Linked DNA regions of Homo sapiens: region 2 is linked to region 1. The links are contacts of gene promoters, found by promoter capture Hi-C in blood cells and fetal thymus (Javierre and others, 2016). All regions are on one chromosome and are shown on one strand. Each heading gives the region's core, a stretch centred on a gene start or on the middle of the fragment in contact. The rest is flanking DNA. Distances are from core to core; before and after follow the strand shown. Region 1 holds the start of GOSR1 (golgi SNAP receptor complex member 1). Region 2 has its middle 110 kb from the start of CRLF3.

Evidence for each region. Contacts are between HindIII fragments. The CHiCAGO score rates a contact against its expected background, and 5 or more counts as called.
Region 2: a fragment that was not itself captured here is called in contact with the fragment with the promoter of GOSR1 in region 1 in 1 of 17 cell types (endothelial precursors); the score reaches 5.7 in endothelial precursors.

The regions. Positions count from the first base shown.
Region 1 is chr17:30,474,122-30,481,323 of GRCh38, reverse strand. GOSR1 (golgi SNAP receptor complex member 1) reads right to left here and starts at 3,916. Exons shown (of 9, transcript NM_001007025.2): 1 at 3,860-3,916; 2 at 67-181. The coding sequence starts at 3,890. RefSeq lists enhancers at 3,653-3,872, 4,023-4,172. The HindIII fragment of the contact is 3,772 bases long and covers 948-4,719 here.
Region 2 is chr17:30,713,570-30,720,293 of GRCh38, reverse strand. It overlaps the pseudogene SUZ12P1. Among named protein-coding and RNA genes, the nearest start is that of CRLF3, 110 kb to the left of the region's middle. RefSeq lists an enhancer at 899-948. The HindIII fragment of the contact is 1,609 bases long and covers 3,540-5,148 here.

The sequences.
Region 1 (7,202 bases), core at 2,667-5,166:
GTTTATTTTTTAATGCTTTAAAAACACAGTTAAGGCATAGGAGACAGAATCTGGTAGTACCTATACCTGTCGCGTCTTCCATCTCGGGTACTGCTATGACTGTAACTTGTACATAGTTTGCTGAAGGAAACTAGTTTCAGGTCAAGTTCATTTTCCAGCTGTCGAGCCTGTTTCCTGAGATCTTTAACAAAATTATAACAACAAATAATTAGACATAAAAAGTAGACACAAAAATCACAGCACCATTCTAAAGAAAACAAACTATGAAAATGATCATATACTGATCTTGTTACCCCCATAAAGAAAAGTGTTGGCTGGGCACGGTGGTGCACGCCTGTAATCCCACCACTTTGGGAGGCCAAGGTGGGCGGATCACCTGAGGTCGGGAGTTTGAGACCAGCCTGATCAACATGGAGAAACCCTATCTCTACTAAAAATAGAAAATTAGCCAGGTGTGGTGGCGCACGCCTGTAATCCCAGCTACTCGGAAGGCTGAGGCAGGAGAATCGCTTGAACGCAGGAGGCAGAGGTTGCGGTGAGCCAAGATTGCGCCATCGTACTCCAGCCTGGGTAACAAGAACAAAACTATGTCTCAAAAAAAGGAAAATAAAAGTCTTAAAAGAAGGAAACCAAGGACTTGCCCAGCAAAGCAGATTAGTCACTTATAAACTTCAGAGGGGGCAAGAAGGGAAATAGTAATGGTAGATGCAACTTCGCAGCTTTACTCCAAAGATGGCTAGAAAACAAATGTTGTTCTATCCTTCCTGAAACTATTTGTATAGCAATAACTAAAATTCTGCAATTCAGAGAAAAACAAGAAGATAATACAAATCACAAAGGAACTAAAAATATGGTTTATGACCAGCATTATCAACTTACCAGTTAATGTTATAAGAAAGAAGCCATTATTCTTTTGAAAGGGATTTTGCTTTTTATGTTCCAAAGCTTTATTAGGCTTATGAACTTCTTTTCATAATAGCAAAATGACTTACCTTTTTTTTTCTTTTTTTTTTTGAGATGGAGTCTCGTTCTGTCACCCAGGCTGGAGTGCAGTGGCATGACCTTGGCTCACTGCATACTCCACCTCCTGGGTTCAAGCAACTCTCATGCCTCAACTACCTCCCAAGTAGCTGGGACTACAGGCACACACCACCATGCCTGGCTAATTTTTGTATTTTTAGTAAAGACGGGGTTTCACCATGTTGGCCAGGGTGGTCTTTAACTCCTGACCTCAAGTGATCCACCCACCTTGGCCTCCCAAAGTGCTAGGATTACAGGTGTGAGCCACCACGCCCGGACCAAAATGACTTCTCAATTGAACATAAAGAAAAAAAGTTACCACAAAAATTGCCTTTTTCTTTCTTTTTTTCTTTTCTGTTTTTTCTCACAATGTTGCCCAGGCTGCTCTCGAACTCCTAAACTCCAGTGACCCTCCTGCCTGGGCCTCCAAAAGTGCTAGAATTACAGGCATGAGACATCGCACCTGGCCAAAAACCGCCTTTAAAAAACTTACTGAGGCCAGGCGCAGTGGCTCACGCCTGTAATCCCAGCACTTTGGGAGGCCGAGGCAGGCGGATCATGAGGTCAGGAGATCAAGACCATCCTAGCTAACACGGTGAAACCCTGTCTCTATTAAAAATACAAAAAATTAGCCAGGCGTGGTGGTGGGCGCCTGTAGTCCCAGCTACTCAGGAGGCTGAGGCAGGAGAATGGCGTGAACCTGGAAGGCACTGGAAGGCAGAGTTTGCAGTGAGTGGAGATTGAGCCACTGCACTCCAGCCTGGGCGACAGTGCGAGACTCCATCTAAAAAAAAGAAAAAAACTTACTGAAAGTAATTTGGAGGGCTAAAACTAACAATAAACAATGTGCTACTAACAAGGTCGAATATGAGTATGATAGAAATAAGTACATAAGTTTTAATAGCAGAAGCAAACAGGCAAGTAGAGAAATTGGTTTAGCAGTCTGGCATCTAAGGGTTGCGTGACAGAAGCCACAGTCTGGACACCCACACACAGATACGAGTATTCTCATTCATGGTGAAGTGAAGGTTAAAATAAAAGGGCAGAAGTACCAGAGGTAATGGTATAAGAATCTCTCTTTCAAAAAGAATACAAAACATTATTTCAATATGCTTTTCAACCAGAAATAGAAAGCGTAGTTAACATAGTGGAGCATATTTGCCCAGAGACCAAATGCCAGTTCGAATCTCGGCACAGCCACTTACTGACTCTATGATTTATCAACAATCTACTTAACCTATGAACTTCAGCTTCTTGTTTTTTAAACCCCTACCTTCAGGGTTTGCTTATGTATTGGTAATCATATGCTTACAGCAGCTGGCACAGAGTAGGTTGTCAGTAATGAGCCGCTGTAATATTATAGCATGCTGCTTCAAAAAACCACAGGCTAATGACTAGTAATAAAGATATCAGTAGCCTCTTCTACATAATTTTAAAATGTTTTCTAGCGGCCAGGCGCGGTGGGTCACACCTGTAATCCCAGCACTTTGGGAGGCAGAGGCGGGCGGATCACGAGGTCAGGAGATCAAGAACATCCTGGCCAACATGGTGAAACCCCGTCTCTACTAAAAATACAAAAATTAGCCAGGCGTGGTGGCATGCATCTGTAGTCCCAGCTACTAAGGAGGCTGAGACAGGAGAATCGCTTGAACGCAGGAGGCGGAGGCTGCAGTGAGCCGAGATCGATAGCGCCACCGCACTCCAGCCTGGGCGACATAGCGAGTCTCCAAAAAAAAAAAAAAAAAAGTTTTCTAGCTGGTACACACATTTCAAATGGGCATTGTAATACATGTTTTAAACTATAAGCACGCTTTTCTGTGATTGGAATAATTGTCTTCTCTAGTAGGAAACATAAGTAAAAGCATTTTGAAAGTATGATAGGCAAATCTGGATAAATTTAGAATTGAGTTTCTTAGACCAAGGGGCTGATAGTGACAATACTGTGGTTTCTAGAGGCTTCAGTGTATAGCAATAAAAACAGGTCAAAGGAATTTGGAAAGTAGTTTCTATGCGGCTGTAAAGCAAAGAGACAGTTGGGAGAAAAAGGTGAGCTTTCTCTGCTCTTGTTGATCATCATAATCCACGAATGAGTTTTATGTAAGCTCACTTTATCCGACTATAGTTTCAGGAATTAAACAAATGCATTTGTCAAATCACAGGAAGGTTTTTTTGGTGGGAGAAGTATAGCAAATGTAACTGCAATTCACACAGGTTCTCTCAACTTTTTCAATAAAACCGATTCTAGACTCTAGAGCAGAAGGGTAAGTTATTTTCTCCTCCTTCAAACACCCAGTCCTGGAAGTCCCCAACCTGTAGTTGTCATGGAGACCCAATAAGAGACATTCTGTCTCCTATTCTCTTCATACTTCCTCCGACGGACCGGAATGCAAGTTCCTCCTTCTCTTTTCCCACTCAGTTTTCCAATAGTGACCTCAGCTCCAATGCGCTGACTCCTCCAGTCTCCGGGGCTCTGGATCTTCTCCCTCAACATTCGTTTCCTCTCAGAGTTCGTACCCCAAGCCCCTTCGTCCGAGTTCCATTACTCCCTCAACACAATTCTACCCAGGCGATTGAGAGCCCTCTTCCTCTACATCCCCGCTCTGTCCACTCTGCCCAACCCCTGCCCCACGTCCCGCTCACACGCCCCGGCCAGGCCAGACCCCTACCCCAGACCGTTCGGTATCCCCAAGGCCCCGGGGATCCCACTTAGGCAAGCCCCGCTGCTCAGCTCGGCCGCTCCGGGAGTCTGGTTCTTTCCTGTGCTGCTTCTCCCAAGATCTGTCCTCACTCAGCCCCTCTCACCCTCGTAGGACGCACCCGGAGGCCTTCTCGCCCTCACCTTCCCAGTAACTGCTGGTCCCTGCCGCCATCTTTGTCGTCCAACGTCAGCCGGGATAGGGGAGCAGAGGCGATGCAGGCCGGAAAGTCACCATGGTGCGTGTTTCCGCCTTGAGAGCCAGGGCCGACGGGATGCGAGCCTCCGCGGACACTGCCACCTGCTGATCAATTCGTTATCTTACAGCTTTTAAGTAGCGAGAGAGAAAAAACTTCGGCTTTAGCTCCTGTCTTTCATTCCCGCTTTCTGCGCCCCAAACCATCATCATCTCCCTCATCTCGGCTTATCCTTTCTCTCAGCAGGTGCCTACTTGACTGGGAGGAGAATCATCCTCAGGCAACTCCCTCAATTTCCCTCACCTTGTCTCTAATTTGTATCTTCAGCCAATTTCTTCCTTTCTCAGACATAGAGACCCTTTCTTCCCAGAGCCATTTCCTTCATCCTACCTCCCCGCCTGTGCTCCATCATCCACGTTCTTTGGCGTATGCGCTCTTCTCCACTGGCTGCTTTCCTTGTCTACAGCAGTTCTAGTCCCAGCCCTCTTTGTCCTTGTCAGCCGCCACATCTAGAAAGAGTGAGCTAACTGCTTCTACATGCTCTCGGCCTGAGCCCTCAACCTGATAAAATCTGCTGTCCAAACCCACACTTTATAGATACATAAATTATCACAGTCTACCGGTGCTGACTTAATTCTAGTGAAGTGTAGAAACCTTAATTCCTGTAAAGTTCTTTCCCCCACTCATTTATAATATAGTTGTTTTTAAGTATTTCCTCTGCATTCATTGAGGAGAACCACATCAGTGTTACAATATTTGCTTCAAGGGTCAGGCATAAGTTAGAGAATTCAAGAGAAGAGGAAAGCTTACTTGATTTATGCATATTTTACTCTTCTTCGTTCCTAGTGTCCCAAGATTCCTTTTTCTAATCGTTTCCTTTCTGTTTCAAGAATTTCCCTCAGCCATTTTTTTTTTAAAGAGTAGATCAGCTGGTGACAAATTCTATTAGTTTTTCTTCATCTGAGAATGTCTTGATTTCCCTTCATTCTTGGGGGATCGGATATTGTTGCCAGATATACAATCTGAAGTTGACAATTTCTTTCTTCAGCACTTGAAAAATGTGCCAATTCCTTCTGGCCTCCATAGTTTCAGATAAGAAATTGACTAAAATTGGAATTGTTTTTCCACTGTAGCTAAAATACATTTTCTCTCTCACTGCTTTCAAGAACTGTTCTTTAGTTTTCAGAAGTTATGATGTGCCTTGGTGTAGATTTCTTTGGATTTATCCTGTTTGGGATATCCTCAGCTTCTTGATTCTGACATTTATGTCTTCTGCCAAATTTGGGGGATTCTCAACCATTGTTTCTTCCAATACTTTTTCTGTCTCATACTGTTTCTCTTCTTTTTCTGGGAGTCTGATGACGTGAATGCTAGATCTTGTGTTAATGTCCCACATAGCTCTGAAGTTATGCTAATTTTTTTTCAGTCTATTTTCCATCATTCGGATTTGGTACTATCTACTATTCTGTCTTCAGATTTGCTGACAGAAAGTATGTCTTTCCTCTGTTCCCTCCATTCTGCTGTTGAGCCTATTCGTTGAGTTCATGTCAATTATTGCATTTTTCGTATCTAAAACTTCTGTTCAGTTCCTCATTATATCTTCTGTTTCTTTGCTGAGACTCGTTTTATCATTTGTTCTAAGTTTGTTTGTAATTGCTCACTAAAGTATTTTTATTAGAGCTGCTTTAAAGTCCTCATCAGATAATTCCAACATCTGTGTCATCTTGATGTTGGGGTCTGTTGTCTTTTTTTCACTCAAGTCGAAGTTCTCTGGGCTATTGGAATGACAATTTTTATAAATTGTATCCTGATGTTTCAGGTATTTGTTATGAGATTCTGATCTTATTTATGTCTTCTGTTTAAGCAGACTTCCTCTGACACTATGCTGCTGGGGGACATAGGGAAATGCTTGCTACTTCCAGGTGGCAGTGGAAGTTCAGGCTCTCCCTTGGCCTTCACTGATTCCCCAGGGAGGGGGTGCCTTGTTACTGCTCCGCATGTGGTCCCCACTGCCACCATGGCAGGGAGCCTCATTGCTGCTGTGCAATGGACGAGAAGTCCAAGTGGGGGATGGGTGGAGTGCTTCATTAGAGCCAGGTGAGTGTGGAAGCCTAGCCTCCTCACTCAGCCTTTGATGGCAAGGAGTGAAGATGGGCCTCAGTTTTTTCTGTGGCATTTGTCCAGAGTGGTGAAATTATTGTCCAAAAGTATTCTGTCTTGTTAGGATACCTGTTTCCTCATCCCTTGTCTGGAGAGAGAAGGCTTTCCATTTTCCTTTGGACTTTTCTTGTCTGCACCCTTTGGCATTTCTAGGTTGCCAGTTTCTCCAGCACCCAGTATAGGACATAGGAAACAAAAAGGAAACCCAGGGAACTCACCTTCATGTTCTTTACATTCTGAGGTCCTTAGCTGGTCTGCCTTCTTCTTTCCACCTTTTTGAGTCTTTTTAAAAATATATATATATGATTTTTTTTTTTTTTGCTGTGCTTAGTGGGAAAAATAGAAAGAAATACAGCTAATCCATTTTGTCCAGAAGTGAAATTGTTGATTTAATTTTTAAATGTTTTAATTATCGGGCTGGATGTAGTGGTTCATGCCTCTAATCCCAGCACTTTGGGAGGCTGAGGTGGTAGGATTGCTTGAGTCCAGGAGTTTGAGGCCAGCCTGGGCAACATAGTAGGACCTCATCTCTACAAAAAATTTAAACATTAGCCAGGCGTGGTGATGCGCCCTATAGTCCCGCTACTCAAGAGGCTGAAGTGGGAGGATTGCTTGAGCCCTGGAGGTCAAGGCTGCAGTGAGCCATCACCACACCACTGCACTCCAGCCTGGGTGACAGAGTAAGACCCTGTCTTAAAAAAAAAAACCTGCTAAAATTCTTCATCTTGTCTTCTACTTTCTTGAATTCATTCATCATCATTCTTTTTTTTTTTTTTTTTTTTTTGAGACAGAGTCTTGCTCTGTCGCCCAGGCTGGAGTGCAGTGGCACGATCTCGGCTCACTGCAACCTCCACCTCCTGAGTTCAAGGATTCTCCTGCCTCAGCCTCTCAAGTAACTGGGATTACAGGTGCCTGCCACCACACTGGCTAAGTTTTGTATTTTTAGTAGAGATGGGCTTTCACCATATTACCTGGGCTGGTCTCGAACTCCTGACCTTGTGATCCTCCCACCTCAGCCTCCCAAAAGTGCTGGGATTACAGGTATGAGACACTGCGCCCGGCTTTTTTTTTTTTTTTTTTTTTTTTTGAGACGGAGTTTCGCTCTTGTCACCCAGGCTGGAGTGCAATGG
Region 2 (6,724 bases), core at 3,095-5,594, 240 kb before region 1:
CCATGGCAACCCTCTGCGCGCTTGAGGGGGTGGGAGTCTGAGTGCCTTGGGTGGGGTGGCGGGGAACCAAGGTGGGGATCTGGGATCTGAGCCCCCTTCATGGTCTTCTCCCTTCTTGGCAGCAGCCGGCCCCTCCACACACAGCCCTCTGGCTGCATCTCCTGCCTCCTGCCCACTCCCCAAACCCAGCCGCCCATGAGCCCACCTCCTCCAGGAAGCCCTCAGGCATCCGGCAGGTCCATAAGGAAGCTGCAGGCCCCGGGGTGACTATGAAGGACCAGCTGAGAGTCGAAGCTCCTGAATTTCAATCTGCTGTGTAGCTTCAGAGCAAGCACTTGGCCTCTCTGAACCTATTTCCCCATTGCTGCTCAGGGACTAACAGACCTACCTCGCAGAGACAGAGCACGTGCCCAGAGAGGGCCCAGGTACATGGTCCTTGGGCAGGGCAGGGTTGTCGCGGCATCTCCAGTCCCTGCCCCATCCTCCAGCTCAGCGGATGGCAGCCCAGTCCCTCCAGGTGCTCAGGAACCGGACAGTCATCCTGGATCCCTCTCCCCTCACATCACATCCAGCCCCGTCAGGTCCTGTGGCTACTCCTTCAGAGCCCACTCACCTCTCGCCACTCCTCAGCTTCTCTGGTCCAGCCCCATCATCTCCTGGCTGGACCCCACTTCCCCACCTCACTGTCTACACCTCGTCTCCCCATCTATCTGCCACCCCTGTCCCATCCAATCTCTACCCCGAGGTGAGAACAATCTTTGCAAAATGAAACTGTCTACAGTATGTTTCCCCCATGGCCACCAGAGGGCGCTTGTGAGCATCTAAGTCAGCTGCTTCCCTCCTCTGCTCAGAACCCTCCGTGGCTCCCACCTCACTCGACCAAAAGCCAAAGTCTGTATCATACAAAGGCTCTGCACTGGGCCGGATGTGGCGGCGCACACCTGTAATCCCAGCACTTCGGGAGGCTGAAGCGGGCTGATTGCTTGGGCTCAGAAGTTCCAGACCAGCCTGGGCAACATAGTGAAACCCTGTCTCTACCAAAAATACAAAAAGTTAGCCAGGCATGGTGGCACACGCCTGTGGTCCCAGCTCCTCGGGAGGCTTAGGTGGGAGGATCTCTTGAGCCCGGGTGGTGGAGGTTGCAGCGAGCTGAGATTATGCCACTGCACTCTAGCTTGGGCAACAGAGCAAGACCCCATCTCAAAAACAAAAAACAAACAGGCCCTGTACAATGTGAAACACCAGGCACTGTTCTGCCTTAGGGCCTCTTCACGGGCTGTTTCTCTCTTCTCCAGATCCCCTCACAGCTCCTCCTGCATCTTCCTTTTGGTCGTTCCTCAAACATCACTAGCTCGGCAAGGTCCTGCTGGCCCCCGCACTCCTACGCCGTGTCCTGACTTGATTTCTCCATACCTATCACCAGCACGCCATGCGTTTTATTTGCTTATGAACTCTCTGCTACTAGATGCTGGCTCTGCAGGGTGGGGTTTGCATACTACACTCAGCACAGTGCCTGGCACAAGCAGGAAGCTGAAATATAATTGTTCAATGAAGAACCTTTTAAAGGTCACCCTGGAGCTGGGTACAGTGGCTCATACCTGTAATCCTAGCACTTTGGGAGACCAATGCAGAATTGCTTGTGGCCAGGAGTTTGAGACCAGCCTGGGCAACACAGTGAGATCCTCTCTCTACAAAAATTTAAAAATTAGCCAGGCATGGTGGCACACACCTGTGGTCCTGGCTACTTGGGAGGCTGAGGCAGCAGGGTCATTCAAGCCCAAAAAGTCAAGGCTGCAGTGAGCTATGATCATGCCACTGCACTCCAGCCTGGGTGACAAAACAAGACTCCGTCTCTAAATAAAATAAAGGTCACCCCAGCCACCAAGCAGCACTAGACTGCAGAGCGGTAGGGGTCGTTCAAAAAATTCCCTGCACCCCCCCGACACCTTCTCCTTCGTCTCCCCATCTATCTGCTACCCCTGTCCCATCCAGTCTCTACCCTGAGGCCAGAATGATCTTTGCAAAATGGAAATCCAATTACACCCCTCCCTGCCTACAACCCTCCATGGCTCCCTATTGCCTGTGATGCTCTAACATGGCATCTCAGGCCCTGCTGTCCTGCCACCTTCCCATCACTTCTACTCAGCGTCTGTCTCTCTCTCACACACAGTTCCTTATTCTGCTCTCCCTCCAAAGGGCTCTGCCCAGAGGACGGCATTCGTATCTCTCATATCCACTCTCACAGAACACAGGGCCTCTGTGTTTTGCTCCCCTAACTGGACTTGGACTCAGCTGTTTAATGTCTGTCTTCTCCACCATCGAGGGACTCTGAGGGCAAAGTACCATTGCGGGTTGGGCTGGCTCTTGTTGCATACCCAGCCCTGGGCAAGGAGTGGATGCTTGTTCATTTGTTTAATGAATGAAGATGAAATAGACCCAAAAAGCAGATCATCTATTCAGTGGATGTTTACCGAGTTCCCAACTGGTCACAAGTGCAATGGAGGAAGGTGTGCCTGAGAGGGGGTATACGTGTAGGTGCAACTGTAGACAGGGTGGCCAGGAAATACCTCCCCTAAAAAGTGACATTTTGGCAGAGGTCTTGAGGAGGTGAGCCATCTAGGTACCTGTGGAAAGAGCATTCTGGGCAGAGGGAACAGCACGTGCAAAGGTCCTGGGGTAGGAATGTGCTGAGATGTGGCTGGGGCCTTGCAAGCAAGGGAAGAGTGGAAGGAGGTGAGGGCAGCTGGGGAGGGGGGTCACAGAGGCCATGCAGGGCCTTGTGGACCTCAAGGAGGACTTTGGCTTTCTAGAGAGGTGGGAGCCATTGGGAATCCTGAACAAAGGAGGGATGGGATCTGGCTCGGGTGTTCACAGGTGTCCTCTGGCCACAGAGATGGAGATCAGACTGTGTGTGGGGAGGGTTGCTGGGAGTGGAGGGTACTCCCTACCCCACCTGTCCCTTGCCTTTTGTCCACAGGGCTGTCAAAGCCAGAAACCTGAAGCTTCCACCAAGTGCTGGCTGCTTCTGGCCCTCACCTTGCTGGTTGCCTCCTGGCCTCCCTTCTGGCCTCCTGGCCTCCCTTCCTGCCAACTATGGCTCTCTCCCATGTAGCAGCTAGAGGGAGCTCATGCTAAACATTCTCACCCTGACATCTGGATCCTGACATAAACCCCCTACCTCTACCCCCATCCCTGCCACAGGCCCTGGCAGCCCCACGGACAAACCAAACAGACTCACAGTCACAAGGCCAGCCAGCAGCCTCCAGCTTCTCTCCATGTGCAGTTGTGAAACATCTCTCCTTCCTCCCCTTTGAGCCACCACCTTCTGTCTGACCTCAGGGCAGCCCCTCTCTCTCACAGATGCTCTTTCCCCTCCGCCATACCCCTCCTCCCACTCCAGGTTGCAGCTGGGAAGCCCCCGCCTCCGGGAAGCCTTCCCTGACTTGCACCTCTGCTGTGCTCACCATCATGGCAGGTCCTGTGGCCTGTGGCCTGTGGTCTGTTTCCACTCCAAAGTGTTCACTGTCCAGCCCCAAGCTTTGCACTCCGAGCTCAGCAGAGCAGAGCTGAAGAGTTCTAGAAGCTAGGGCCCGAGCAGAGGGCACAGAGGCGGGATCCCCCTGCCTCATCAGATGCCGGCAGTTAAGGGGCAGGGTGAGACCAGGAGACGGGGGCATGGTGCCTAGCAGGGCAGGAGAGAAGAGGCCCCGGGCATAGCGCCCTTAAGTTGCAGGTTCAAATCCAGGCTGTGCGCCGTCATGTCGGCACGACAGGACACCCACATCACTCCTCTCAATTCTGTCTCTCCACGGGGGAGCTGGGGAACGATAGCATCCCAGGGTGGCTGTGGGGGTTAGAAATAATTTTTGGCAATTCCACACATCTTTTTTGGAGCATCTTCTATGTGCCAGACACTGAGGGGCTGGGTACAAAAAAGTCGACTCTGTAGCGTACCAGTGTTGTGAAAGAAGATAAAGCCAGGAAAAGTGGCTATGAGTGTGTGTGGGTTTGGGAGTGTTTTTTTTTTTTTAATCGTATTTTTAAAGACAGGGTCTCGCTCTGTTGCCCAGGGTGGAGTGCAGTGGTGGGATCATGGCTCACCACAGCCTCTGAGCTCAAGGGATCCTCCTGCCTCGGCCTCCCAAGTAGCTGGGACCACAGGGCGTGTGCCATCGTGCCCAGCTAATTTTTAATTTTTTTGTAGAAATGGGGGCCTCGTTATGTTTCCCAGGCTGGTCTCGAACTCAAGCAATCCTCCCACCTCATCCTCCCAAAGTGCTGGGATTACAGGCATGAGCTACTATGCCCGGCTGTTGCAATTTTATTTTCTTTTATTTATTTATTTATTTGAGACAGAGTCTTGCTCTGTCATCCAGGCTGGAGTGCAATGGCATGATCTTGGCTCACTGCAACCTCTGCCTCCCAGGTTCAAGCGATTCTCCTGACTCAGCCTCCTGATTAGCTGGGACTACAGGCACCCACCACCACGCCCAGCTAATTTTTGTATTTTTAGTAGAGACAGGGTTTCACCATGTTGGTCAGGCTGGTCTCGAACTCCTGATCTCAGGTGATCCACCCACCTCGGCCTTCCAAAGTGCTGGGATTACAGGCATGAGCCACTGTGCCCGGCTGTTGCAATTTTCAACAGGATGATCAAGAAAGGTCATCTCCCCTGGAGAAGATGACATTTTAGCAAACCTCTGTGAATTTGAGGGAGGAGCACGCAGGTGATCAGTTCAGGAGAGTTAGAAGAGCGTCCTAGGCAGGGTCACAGCCCGTGCAAAGGCCCTGGGGCTGGACTGTGCCTGTATGTTTGAATAACGGTGGCAGCTGCATCGAGGAAGCGGGTCGTGAGCTGGTGAGGAGAGTGGGAGGAGGTGAGAGCAGGGAGGTGCCGGGAACAGACTGCGCGGGACTCGCCTTGTACTTTAAGCACACAACTGCTCCCCAAATGGGGCCGCCCCTCTGCCCAGCCTTCACTCCCAGAAGCCACTAGGGGGCGTTCTGGGGCAGGGTCGGCCAACCATGGCCAGGCCCCAGCCTGCTTTTGTACAGCTGGTGAGCTAAGAATGGTGTTTACATTTTTAAAGGACTGAAGAGAAGAGAAAAGAGAACAGGCCACAGAACCCGTCTGCGGCCCGCAAAGCTTGCAGGATTTACCATCGGGCTTTCTACAGGAAAGTCAGCCAACCTCTACTCTATTTTATTTATGTATATATTTTTTTGAGACAGGGTCTTGCTCTGTTGCCCAGGCTGGAATGCACTGGCGGGATCACAGCTCACTGCAGCCTTGACCTCCCAGCTCAAGTGATCCTCCTGCCTCAGCCTCCCGAGTAGCTGGGACGACAGGCGTGCAGCACCATGCCCAACGAATTTTTTAATTTTTTATTCTGTAAAGAAGGGGGTCTCGCTTTGTCGCCCAGGCTGGTCTTGAACTCCTGGACTCAAGTGATCCTCCTGCCTCAGCCTCCCAAAGTGCTAGGATTACAGGCGTGGGCCACCTTGCCCCACTGGCAACCTCTACTCTACAGCCATCACTGCCAACCCAGGACAATTCTGCCCCTGATCCCAGTATGTTTAGCAATGTCTGGAGACGTTCCGAGGTGTTACAACTGTGGGGCTGGAGGTGTCACTGACATCCATCGGGAAGAGGCTAGGGTGGCCTCTGAGCATCCTATAGTACAAAGGACAGCCTCCCACAGAGAATGATGCAGTGCCAAAGTCAGGAGTAATGGAAATCATCTGGGAAATCCTGTCTGAGAAAGCCAGCCCCGGACCCCTCACCTCCTCAAGGACAGGAAGGAGAATCCACCTGGCTTCCTGACCTGATCATTTGTGACCTGCAGGGTATTTTTAGCCTCTGAGGGAGGGGCACTGACTATTCTGAGGCTTTTTTTTTTTTTTTTGGCGGGGGGGCAAGGCTATTTTTGGCCTGGGCATCTATTTATTGAATTTTTATCTCCCCCCAAATTTTGGAACAGGAGACAGTGAAGGCAGGGGCCTTTTTTTTTTTTTTTTTTTTTTAAGAGTCAGGATCCTGCTTTGTCGCCCAGGCTGGAGTGCACTCGTGCAATCATAGCTCACTGCAGCCTCAAACTTCTGGGCTCAAGCGATCCTTCCACCTCAGCCTCCTGAGCAGCTGAGACTACAGGTGCATATTCACGATGCCCAACTATTAAAAAAATTTTTTAGAAACGAGTCTTGCTATGTTGCCCAGGCTGATCTCAAATTCTTGTCCTCGAGCAATCTTCCCACCTCGGCTTCCCAACATTCTGGGTTTACAGGTGTGAGTCACCACACCTGGGTCAGGTAAGACTTCTTGAACGCACACTGTGGGCCAGTGATGACTGCTGACACCTGGGATTCCCAAAGCAAAGCAAATCACAACATCCTCGCGCACTTGGATCCTCCTCACAGACACAGACAGTAAACAAACAAGCGCAGAACATCAGGAAATTACAGCCTATGTGAAAAGCCGTCTGCTGTACTGAACATCAGGAGGGGTGTGGGAAGCTGAGACTCTGCAGAAGGTGCCTGGGAGTAAACCTTACTGGGGAGGTGATATTTCAAGAGGGTGGGGGAGAAAAAGCCTCGCAAATATCTGGGGAAGGGTCCTAGATGGCAGAACAGCAGTGCAAACGCCCCGGGGTAGGATCACACTTAGCACACTGGAGGAGCAACGAGGAGGGAGGAGGTGGCCCAGAAAGACCATGAAGGGCCAGAC